3 separate regions of the Homo sapiens genome follow, and all the other regions are linked to region 1. The links are contacts of gene promoters, found by promoter capture Hi-C in blood cells and fetal thymus (Javierre and others, 2016). All regions are on one chromosome and are shown on one strand. Each heading gives the region's core, a stretch centred on a gene start or on the middle of the fragment in contact. The rest is flanking DNA. Distances are from core to core; before and after follow the strand shown.

Region 1 (2,768 bases), core at 199-2,698:
CTGGGCCTTTGCTCAGGCGGTCCCTGCACCCTGGCCTCTGCCTGACCAGGATGGTGGGGAGAGGAGGGGGGACGTCCCCCACGCTGCTGTCTCCACTGTTCCTGCTGCCCAGGCCTCTGAGCTTCCAGGACTGCAGCGGGTGGGTGGGTGGGCTGGCCTAAGCCCAGGAATGCACTTCAGCTCCTGGTTGAGCAATGTCACTGAGGCTTGGGAGTCGGGTGGGGGCGGGAGGAGGCATCCACAGGCCCCCCACCGCGAGAGGCAGCCGTGGGAACAGCCTGCCTCTAAACAATCATTCCAGTCCAGGCTGACCAGGGGCTCTGGCTGGACATAGGGGCCTGGCAGGCTGTGTGGCCTGTAAGGACACAGTCTGTCTCTGTGCCTCAGTTTCTCTGCTGCCCAGATGGGGGGGCCCGGCTTCCAGGTGTAGACATCTGGAGCAGGCAGTGTTCAGCTGGGGAGGAAGCGGGGAGGACTGTGGGGGCCACGTGGGAAGAAGTCCAGCCCACATCACCTGCACCCCTGCTGAGCCTGGTCAACAGAGCCCCTCAGTGGGTCCTCACTCTCCTGGCTGCCTCCCATTTAGGCACCCTGAGGCCTGGGGAGAACAGAGCCAGGCCAGTGTCCCTAGAGAGGCTGCGCTGCCAGCACAGTAATAGCGGATTTGGATTCAGGGAAGCAGACCCGCAGCTAGGGTGGGAAAGAGCTACAGGCAGGGCGTGGCCTCCACACAGCCTCCCTCCCTGGAGGTCCATGCTGCATTTCCAGGACAGCAAGTCCTGGACAAATGGTCCCGGATGCCAAGGGCTAGAGGCATGGTCTGTCTGCATTCCCCACATGGGCGTCTTGTAGTCACCAGCATTTGATGCTGTCAAGTCCCCCTGTCCTCTGTGCAGACTGGGAAGCCCTTGGCCACCCTGGGGAGTTGTGGGACCCAGGCCAGGCTGCAGAAGCATAAGGACTTGAACCCAAGTTTTAAGTGACACCACCTTGTGTCCCCCTCCCTCTGCCTCTGTTCAGCTCCACCTTGATGCTGACTAGGCTGGGCCATGAGGAGAGGGTTAGGGGATAGAGATGGGAGCTGGGGAGCAGGGCTCCACTCTGGGAGGGGGGCAGCCTTGCCGGATCCAGGGGAGAGAGTTGAGCGGCCCCAGCTCTGCTTTCCCAGAGCTGCCGGGAACCCGGGGAATGGTGTGGAGGTTCCAGGGAGCCCTGCCCCTACCTGGCAACCGCAGTGCAGCAGGCACCAAGTTCTCCTGCACATTGCGACAGTGTGACCCTGGGCTCTGGCGGGCGGTAGGTGGGGCCTTTGGACCTACTAGCAGTGAGGGAGTTAACACAGCAGCTGACTCCTCTAGGCAAGGAAAACTCCCCTCAGACGCTTTGCTGCCTGGCCTCCTGCCAGCAACAAGCAGGAGCTGAAAACCAGAAGTTGAGGCGTGAGTTTGGCCACTCCGTAGTGTGCACTTGGTGAGGGCAGCAGCTCGCCACAGCTGCCAGCCATCTGTCCATTCACCCATCTGTCCATCTGGCAGCCCGCTGTTCAGACCTGTCTGTCTGTCCGCCCATCTGTAAGCCCATCTCTGTCCCATTGTCTATCTGACCATCTTTCTCTTACTGTCCTCTTTGTCTAGCTATCTGGCCTATCTGTCGATCCATCTTCGTGTCTGTCTTCAGCCCCCACCTGTTTGTCCATCTGTCCAATTACCTGTGACTCTGTGCATCTTCTTGTCCATTCATCTGCCCACCCATCCGTCCCTCCGTCTGCCCACCAGCCGCCCCTCTCCTCCTGGGCTGCAGAGCCATGGCCCGGGGCTACGGGGCCACGGTCAGCCTAGTCCTGCTGGGTCTGGGGCTGGCGCTGGCTGTCATTGTGCTGGCTGTGGTCCTCTCTCGACACCAGGCCCCATGTGGCCCCCAGGCCTTTGCCCACGCTGCTGTTGCCGCCGACTCCAAGGTCTGCTCGGATATTGGACGGTGAGTGAGACGTGGGAGGAAGCTGGGTGGCCCTTGGCAGCCAGCCCCTCCTGGAGAAGGCGTGTGTGTGTGTGTGTGTGTGAGTGAATGTATGTGTGGGTGTGTGTGTGAGTGTCTGGGTATGTGTGATTGCATGCATGTGTGGGTGTGTGTGAGTGTATGTGAGTGTGAGTGTGGGGAGTGTGGGTGTGTGTGAATGTGTGTGATTGTGTGTGGGTATGTGTATGTGTGGGTGGGTGTGTGTGTGTGTGTGTGTGCACGTGCACTGGCCCAGGAAGCAGGAGCCGTGTGTGTGTGGGCTTCAGCACCTGCAGGTCTTGGGCGCAAGGAGGCAGCCTCAGGGCCCTTGCACAGAACAGGTGGCAGGGTGTGCTCGTGGGGCAGATGGGGACTTGGGGACAATGGTGGTGTGTGAGTCCACGCCTGGCTCCAGGATTCAGGAGGCCCATTTGCATATCCCAGGTGGGAACCTGTCTGGCCCCGCCTGACCCTGCTGGCCGGTGCAGGCCCCTTCAGTGAGGCCAATTCTCCAAGGCTGCGGTCTTCTCCCAGGGTCATGGGTGAAGGGGTTTGGAGGCTCCCTGCGTGGGTACTGGCCTGCTGGGGTACACACAATGCTGCCATAGCCAGTCTGCCCCAACACCCAGCCTGGGGCCACATCTCGGGTCTCTCAGTCCTGAGGAGCCCGGTGCCCCACCCCTCACATCCTCTCTCCCTGAGTCAGGGCCTGGGTCTCGTGAGCTGAGTGACTGATACTTGGTGTCCTGGATGAGGGCGTGGTGGAGAGGGGC
Region 2 (2,768 bases), core at 175-2,674, 480 kb after region 1:
CCTTGGGCCACCTTACTGATGATCCGAACGAGGACATATATGGCTCGCTCCTTCAGTAGGGAGTTGCCCATGGTCTGGGCCCGGGAAGCCCCTTCCTTCAGGTCCTCCTCCAGGCTCACTAGGTTGCCATCCTCAGCCAGGAGAGCAATGGTCGCTGGGAGGACATGGAGAGAGACTGGGCAGGGCTGGCACCCCTGCCTGGGACCCCTCAGCCCCTCCTTCTCCTCCCTGTCTCCTCACCATCTGGGGGCAACCCTGCTTTCTGCCTCAGGTGGGCGGTGAGGTTCACCAGCCTGCAAGAGGTGTTCACCAGCACCGAGCAGCCAGCTGTGGAGAGGGGCAAAGGTGAGCCTGTGAGATCTCTTACCTTCCTCCAAATCGGGGTCCTCTGTCTCTCCCTCCCATCTCTCCCTTTCCCAGAGCTGCGACTGGGCCTATGGGCTAAGACTGTGCCCCGGGCATAACAGCTCCAACATCTGTTGCTTAAACTGCCTTGGAGAACCCTCCATCCATCTCCCATGTGTGGTGACTTTTCTCCCATGTGTGGTGACTCCCAAGTGTTGGTCTCTTGAGTCCTGCAAAGCACGAAGTGGGCGCCAGCCCAGCCTCCTCCCGGGACCCGCCCCCACGGGACCCAGCCAGTCCCCGCCCTCCGCACCCACCGGCTCCTCTCTTCCCTTCCGCTACCGCACAGGGCCGACCCGCCTCCAGCCAGAGGCACGGGGACCCTGCAACTGTGGCTAGAGTTTCAGGTGTCTGATGCACGCTGAAGCTTGAGGATCACGGATTGAATGGCGAAGAGATTGTGCGGCTTAAAAACCTGCTCCAGGGTAATGCGGCGGTCTCTGGCCGAGAGGAACCCTTGTGAATGAGCAGGACTCAGCTCGGGTTTTCCCTTTAAGGGACTCGCTCCAGGTGCTGGCTTCGCCTCCTCACAGAGCCGCTTCCCCGACGACCCCCGCCATGTGCACCACCCCCCTTTCCCGCCATTGCCTCCCCACCCACCGCAAGGGCGGAAGGAAGCACGCCTCTGAGTGTGCTCATCCCCCTATCCGCCTACCAAGACAGGGGACCCCACTTACCCCCAAACATCACCTTGATAAACATAGCTGCAGCGGGTGAGGGAGATGTGGGGGGCTTTGATCCCCCAACTCTCGATTCCCCAACTAAGGAAAAGCGTGGAGCAGAGACCTGCTTCAGGGCCGGGCTCTGGAGGGAGAAGTGGATGTGTGAGTGTGGATGGCTGGGTCCCAGGGCCAGGCCCCTGCTCAGCCACCTCTGTGGTTCTGCTGCTTCAGCCTAGCTCAAACCCTGCAGCTAGTCCAAGACTCCTGGCCTCCTCTTCCTCCCCACTGAGCCCTGGGCCACAGCAGCTCCCCTAAGCTTCCAAGCTGGTCTCCATGGCAGTGGGGGCGGAGACATCTAGGCAGGAAATGCCTTCCTCCCTGTATCCGTTAACGGGGCCCATGGGGGAGAGGTGACAGAAGAAGTGGGGGCTGGCATTCCCTGAGGCGGGGAATGCCATCATTGGGATTGATTTTTTTTAGAGACAGTCTCCCTATGTTGCCCAGGCTGGTCTCGAACTTGGCTCAAGCAATTCTCCAGCCCCAGCCTCCCACAAGTGCTGGGATTGCAGTTGTGAACCACTTGTACAGTAAAGTTCACCCTTTCTGGTGTTTTAAAGTTATGCCAACTCTCATATAACCACCACCACAGTCAAGATACAGAACATTTCCATCACCCCCAAATTCCTTTGCCCCCTTTGTACTCAGCCCTAGTCGCTTCCAGGTCCATAGCAGGTCACAAGCACCTCCTTGTTAGCACTGGCCACTAGCTAGTCCCTCACACCGGTTCTCACCGTCATTTCCTGTCTTTTATTTATTTATTTATTAAGTTTATTAATTATTATTATTATTGGTGTTTTTTAAATTTTTATTTTTTGAGATGGAGTCTCCCTGTCACCCAGGCTAGAATGCAGTGGTACGATCTCGGCTCACTGCAACCTCCGCCTCCCGAGTTCAAGCGATTCTCCTGCCTCAGCCTCCCAAGTAACTGGGACTACAGGTGTGCACCACTACACCTGGCTAGTTTTTTTTTTTTTTTTTTTTTTTTTTGAGACGGAGTCTCGCTCCCTCGCCCAGGCTGGAGTGCAGTGGTGTGACCTCGGCTCACTGCAAGCTCCGCCTCCCGGGTTCACGCCTTTCTCCTGCCTCAGCCTCCTGAGTAGCTGGGACTACAGTCGCTCGCCACCACGCCCAGCTAATTTTTTTTGTATTTTTAGTACAGACGGGGTTTCACCATGTTAGCCAGGACGGTCTCAATCTCCTGACCTCGTGATCTGCCCGCCTCGGCCTCCCAAAGTGCTGGGATTACAGGATTACAGGCGTGAGCCACTGCGCCCGGCCTTTTTTTGTATTTTTAATAGAGATGGAGTTTCACCATATTGGTCAGATTGGTCTCGAACTCCTGACCTCAAATGATCCGCCCATCTTGGCCTCCCAAAGTGCTGAGCCACCAAGCCTGACCTATTTATTTTTTTTTGAGAATGAGTCTCGCTCTGTCAGCCATGCTGCAGTGCAGTGGCGCAATCTCGGCTCACTGCAACCTCCGCCTCTCGGGTTCAAGCGATTCTCCTGCCTCAGCCTCCGGAGTAGCTGGTATTACAGGCGCCAGCCACCACCCCTGGCTAATTTTTTGTATTTTTAGTAGACATAAGGAAGGCCAGGCTGGTCTCGAACTCCTGACCTCAGGTGATCCACCTGCCTGAG
Region 3 (2,768 bases), core at 77-2,576, 460 kb after region 1:
ATTTGTACATCTGAACTGTATATCCATAATTTTTTTAAAAAGGTAACATATACTAGCTGGGGACTGCCTTTGGAGCAAAAAAGGCTAGTTTGAGACAATCTGTAAAAACCTAATATATGGCCGGGTGTGGTGGCTCATGCCTGTAATCCTAGCACTTTGGGAGACCCAGACGGGCAGACTGCTTGAGCCCAGGAGTTGGAGACCTGCCTGCGCAACATAGCCAGACCCTGTCTCTATAAAAAACAAAAAACAAGAACCTAATAGACTTGGAACAAACACCCATTCAAAGGCCAGTAGAGTTTTCCTGAAGTCAGTCATCCAGTTGATGCAACAAAATGCAGCCACTCTAGTTAAGGGTTAAACATCCTTAGGCTCTTTCCCCTGTAATAATTCAGAATCAGTTCACAGATATGGAAAGTGTCAATCGCTTCAGAACTGCTGAAAGATCTAGCTTAGGCATGGGGCCCTTATTCACCCAAAAGCAAACATCTTCCTCCAATCTGTTTCTTCACCGGTAAACAAAGGTCAAAAGACCTCCACTGCTCACCTAAGAGGCAACAAACACAATGGGGATGAGCCCTCACTAAGTCCAGGGTTTCCAGCCTGCCATTTGAGGTTCCCACAAGTAGCAATACGGGGAGGGGTGCACGTGAAATTTACGACATCTAAAAAGGGTCAAAGGCAGCAGTGCAGTCCCCCAAGCGTCGCAGGGGCTAACTCAATATCCCGTTTCTTTGCGTCTGACTGGAAACCAACCCAGCGCGGAACCACTGGGGCCCCTCGCGGCGCCAAAATCTTGGCAGCACTGAAGGCGGCGGACCTCGGCGAAATAAGTAAGGAAATCCCAGGTCGATGAGGGGGCGGGGGCCACACCCGACACGCCCACTAGGCCACGCCCCACAGCCCCGAGCGCGCGCGCGCGCGCCCGCCCGCCCCGATGAATGGAGACGCGCGCTCTCGGCGCATGGGCCCGCCCCGGGGCTCCCGCGGGGCCGAGCCCGGGGAGGGCGAGAACGCGCCCCGGGCTACCTCGGAGCCGATCATGTAGAACTCGCCGTCGTCCTCCAGCTGGAACTTCACGGGCTTCTGCCCGAAGGTCTTGCTCAGCGCCATCATCATCATTGCGGCGGCAGAGGCGGGCGGCCGGAGCCGGGCTGCGAGGGATCAGGAGGGCTGGGGCGGGGCCGGGGCGTGCTGGGCCGAGGGAAACCGAAGCCGGAAGGCGAAATGCGGACCGGGCCGGGTACTGGCGCCTCAGCCGGGCTCCTCAGCCGCCGCCGCCGCCGCAGACGACGACCAGGCCGCCCTCAGTGCGCAGGCGCTGGCGTTGACGCTGACGCGCGCGCCGCCGCTCAAACAAAAGGCCGGGCGCGCCTCCGCGGACCCCTTAAAGGAGCCACGACTAATTTCTCTTTCTCCCAGGCTGCCTCCCAAGTCGTGGTGTAGAGGACTTCTCACGGACAAAAATAGCCAATGAGGTCCTGACTCAAGCAGTGGCTTTCCCAGTCTTACAGCCAGGACTGGAACTGAGCCCAGGGGAAAAGCAACGAAGTGAGGCCTGAAGGAGGAGGACCTAGTATCTGGAAGCCTGGGTGGTCTGGGCATGCTTTGGGACCCCAATCTCGTGCCTTAGCTTCCCCACCCCTAAAACGCAGTGCAGCTGAGCAGATAGGCAGGCCCCTAGGAAGAGATATCCCAGTTCCGGGCCTACGGCTGTCCCTGCAGCTGTGGAGGTGGGCAAAATGACAACAGCGGATGAGGCTTGGCAATGTTCAAAGGCCCAGGTGGTATTTGGTTTGGCTGGTGCATCAGATGAGCGTTGGAAGGGAGAGACACCTTCCACCTTCTCCATTCCTCTCTTAGCCTACACTCTGCTTAACCGAGCCCTGCAGTGGGGAGTGAAACCAGGCAGCCCAGCCCTGTGGCTCTGCCTCTTGGCTCTTACAGCGCGAAGCTAGTGAAACTAATGAAAGTCTGAAAGCAATCATGATTGAATAATGCAGGGAGTAAAACAGTGGCCCACTACTGATGATTTCACACCGTTCAATCTAATGAAATTGCAGCTGTGGCTGGGCTCAGCGGCTCATGCCTGTAATCCCAACTCTTTTTTTTTTTTTTGAGGCTGGAGTCTCCTGCCTCAGCCTCCCAAGTAGCTGGGACTACAGGCACCCGCCACCACGCCCAGCTAATTTTTTGTATTTTTAGTAGAGACAGGGTTTCACCATGTTAGCCAGGATGGTCTCGATCTCCTGACCTCGTGATCCGCCCCCCTCGGCCTCCCAAAGTGCTGGGATTACAGGTGTGAGCCACTGCGCCCGGCCTTGTAATCCCAACTCTTTAGGAGGCCAAGGCAGGGAGGATCACTTGAAGCCAGGAGTTTGAGACCAGACTGGACAAGACAGCAAGACCCTGTCTCTACAAAAATTCTAAAATAAATAAGCTGGGTGTGGCATGGCGGTGTGCACCTGTAGCCCCAGCTACTTGGGAAGTGGAGAGGGGAAGATCCCTTGAGCCCAGGAGTTCAAGGTTATAGTGAGCTGATTGCACCACTGCACTGCAGCCTGGGCAACAAAGGGAGACCCTGCCTCTCTTAAAAAAAAAAAAAATGCAACTATGCTATTACGAAGACACACATGGGGCTGGAAGGTAGGGCAAGGAGACACTGGAGAGTTGGGAAGGGCAGTGACTGAAGTTGCTTTGTTCTGTATCCTCACAGTGGTGGGAAACCAAAGTACAGTCATCCCTCAGTATCCATGGGAATTGGTTCC

Evidence for each region. Contacts are between HindIII fragments. The CHiCAGO score rates a contact against its expected background, and 5 or more counts as called.
Region 2: a contact is called between the fragment with the promoter of C22orf15 here and the fragment with the promoter of GGT5 in region 1, in 1 of 17 cell types (monocytes). The highest score is 5.3, in monocytes.
Region 3: the fragment with the promoter of SMARCB1 here is called in contact with the fragment with the promoter of GGT5 in region 1 in 6 of 17 cell types (M0 macrophages, naive CD8 T cells, fetal thymus and 3 more); the score reaches 7.3 in M0 macrophages.

What each region holds. Positions count from the first base shown.
Region 1 is chr22:24,243,762-24,246,529 of GRCh38, reverse strand. It overlaps GGT5 (gamma-glutamyltransferase 5), which reads left to right and starts at 1,448. Exons shown (of 12, transcript NM_004121.5): 1 at 1,448-1,977. The coding sequence starts at 1,805. RefSeq lists enhancers at 1-443, 1,556-2,111, 2,112-2,667. The HindIII fragment of the contact is 5,279 bases long and covers 1-2,768 here.
Region 2 is chr22:23,761,646-23,764,413 of GRCh38, reverse strand. C22orf15 (chromosome 22 open reading frame 15) reads right to left here and starts at 1,424. Exons shown (of 6, transcript NM_182520.3): 1 at 1,083-1,424; 2 at 241-327; 3 at 17-154. The coding sequence starts at 1,107. The HindIII fragment of the contact is 2,909 bases long and covers 1,386-2,768 here.
Region 3 is chr22:23,785,524-23,788,291 of GRCh38, reverse strand. SMARCB1 (SWI/SNF related BAF chromatin remodeling complex subunit B1) reads right to left here and starts at 1,326. Exons shown (of 9, transcript NM_003073.5): 1 at 1,030-1,326. The coding sequence starts at 1,122. The HindIII fragment of the contact is 10,586 bases long and covers 1-2,768 here.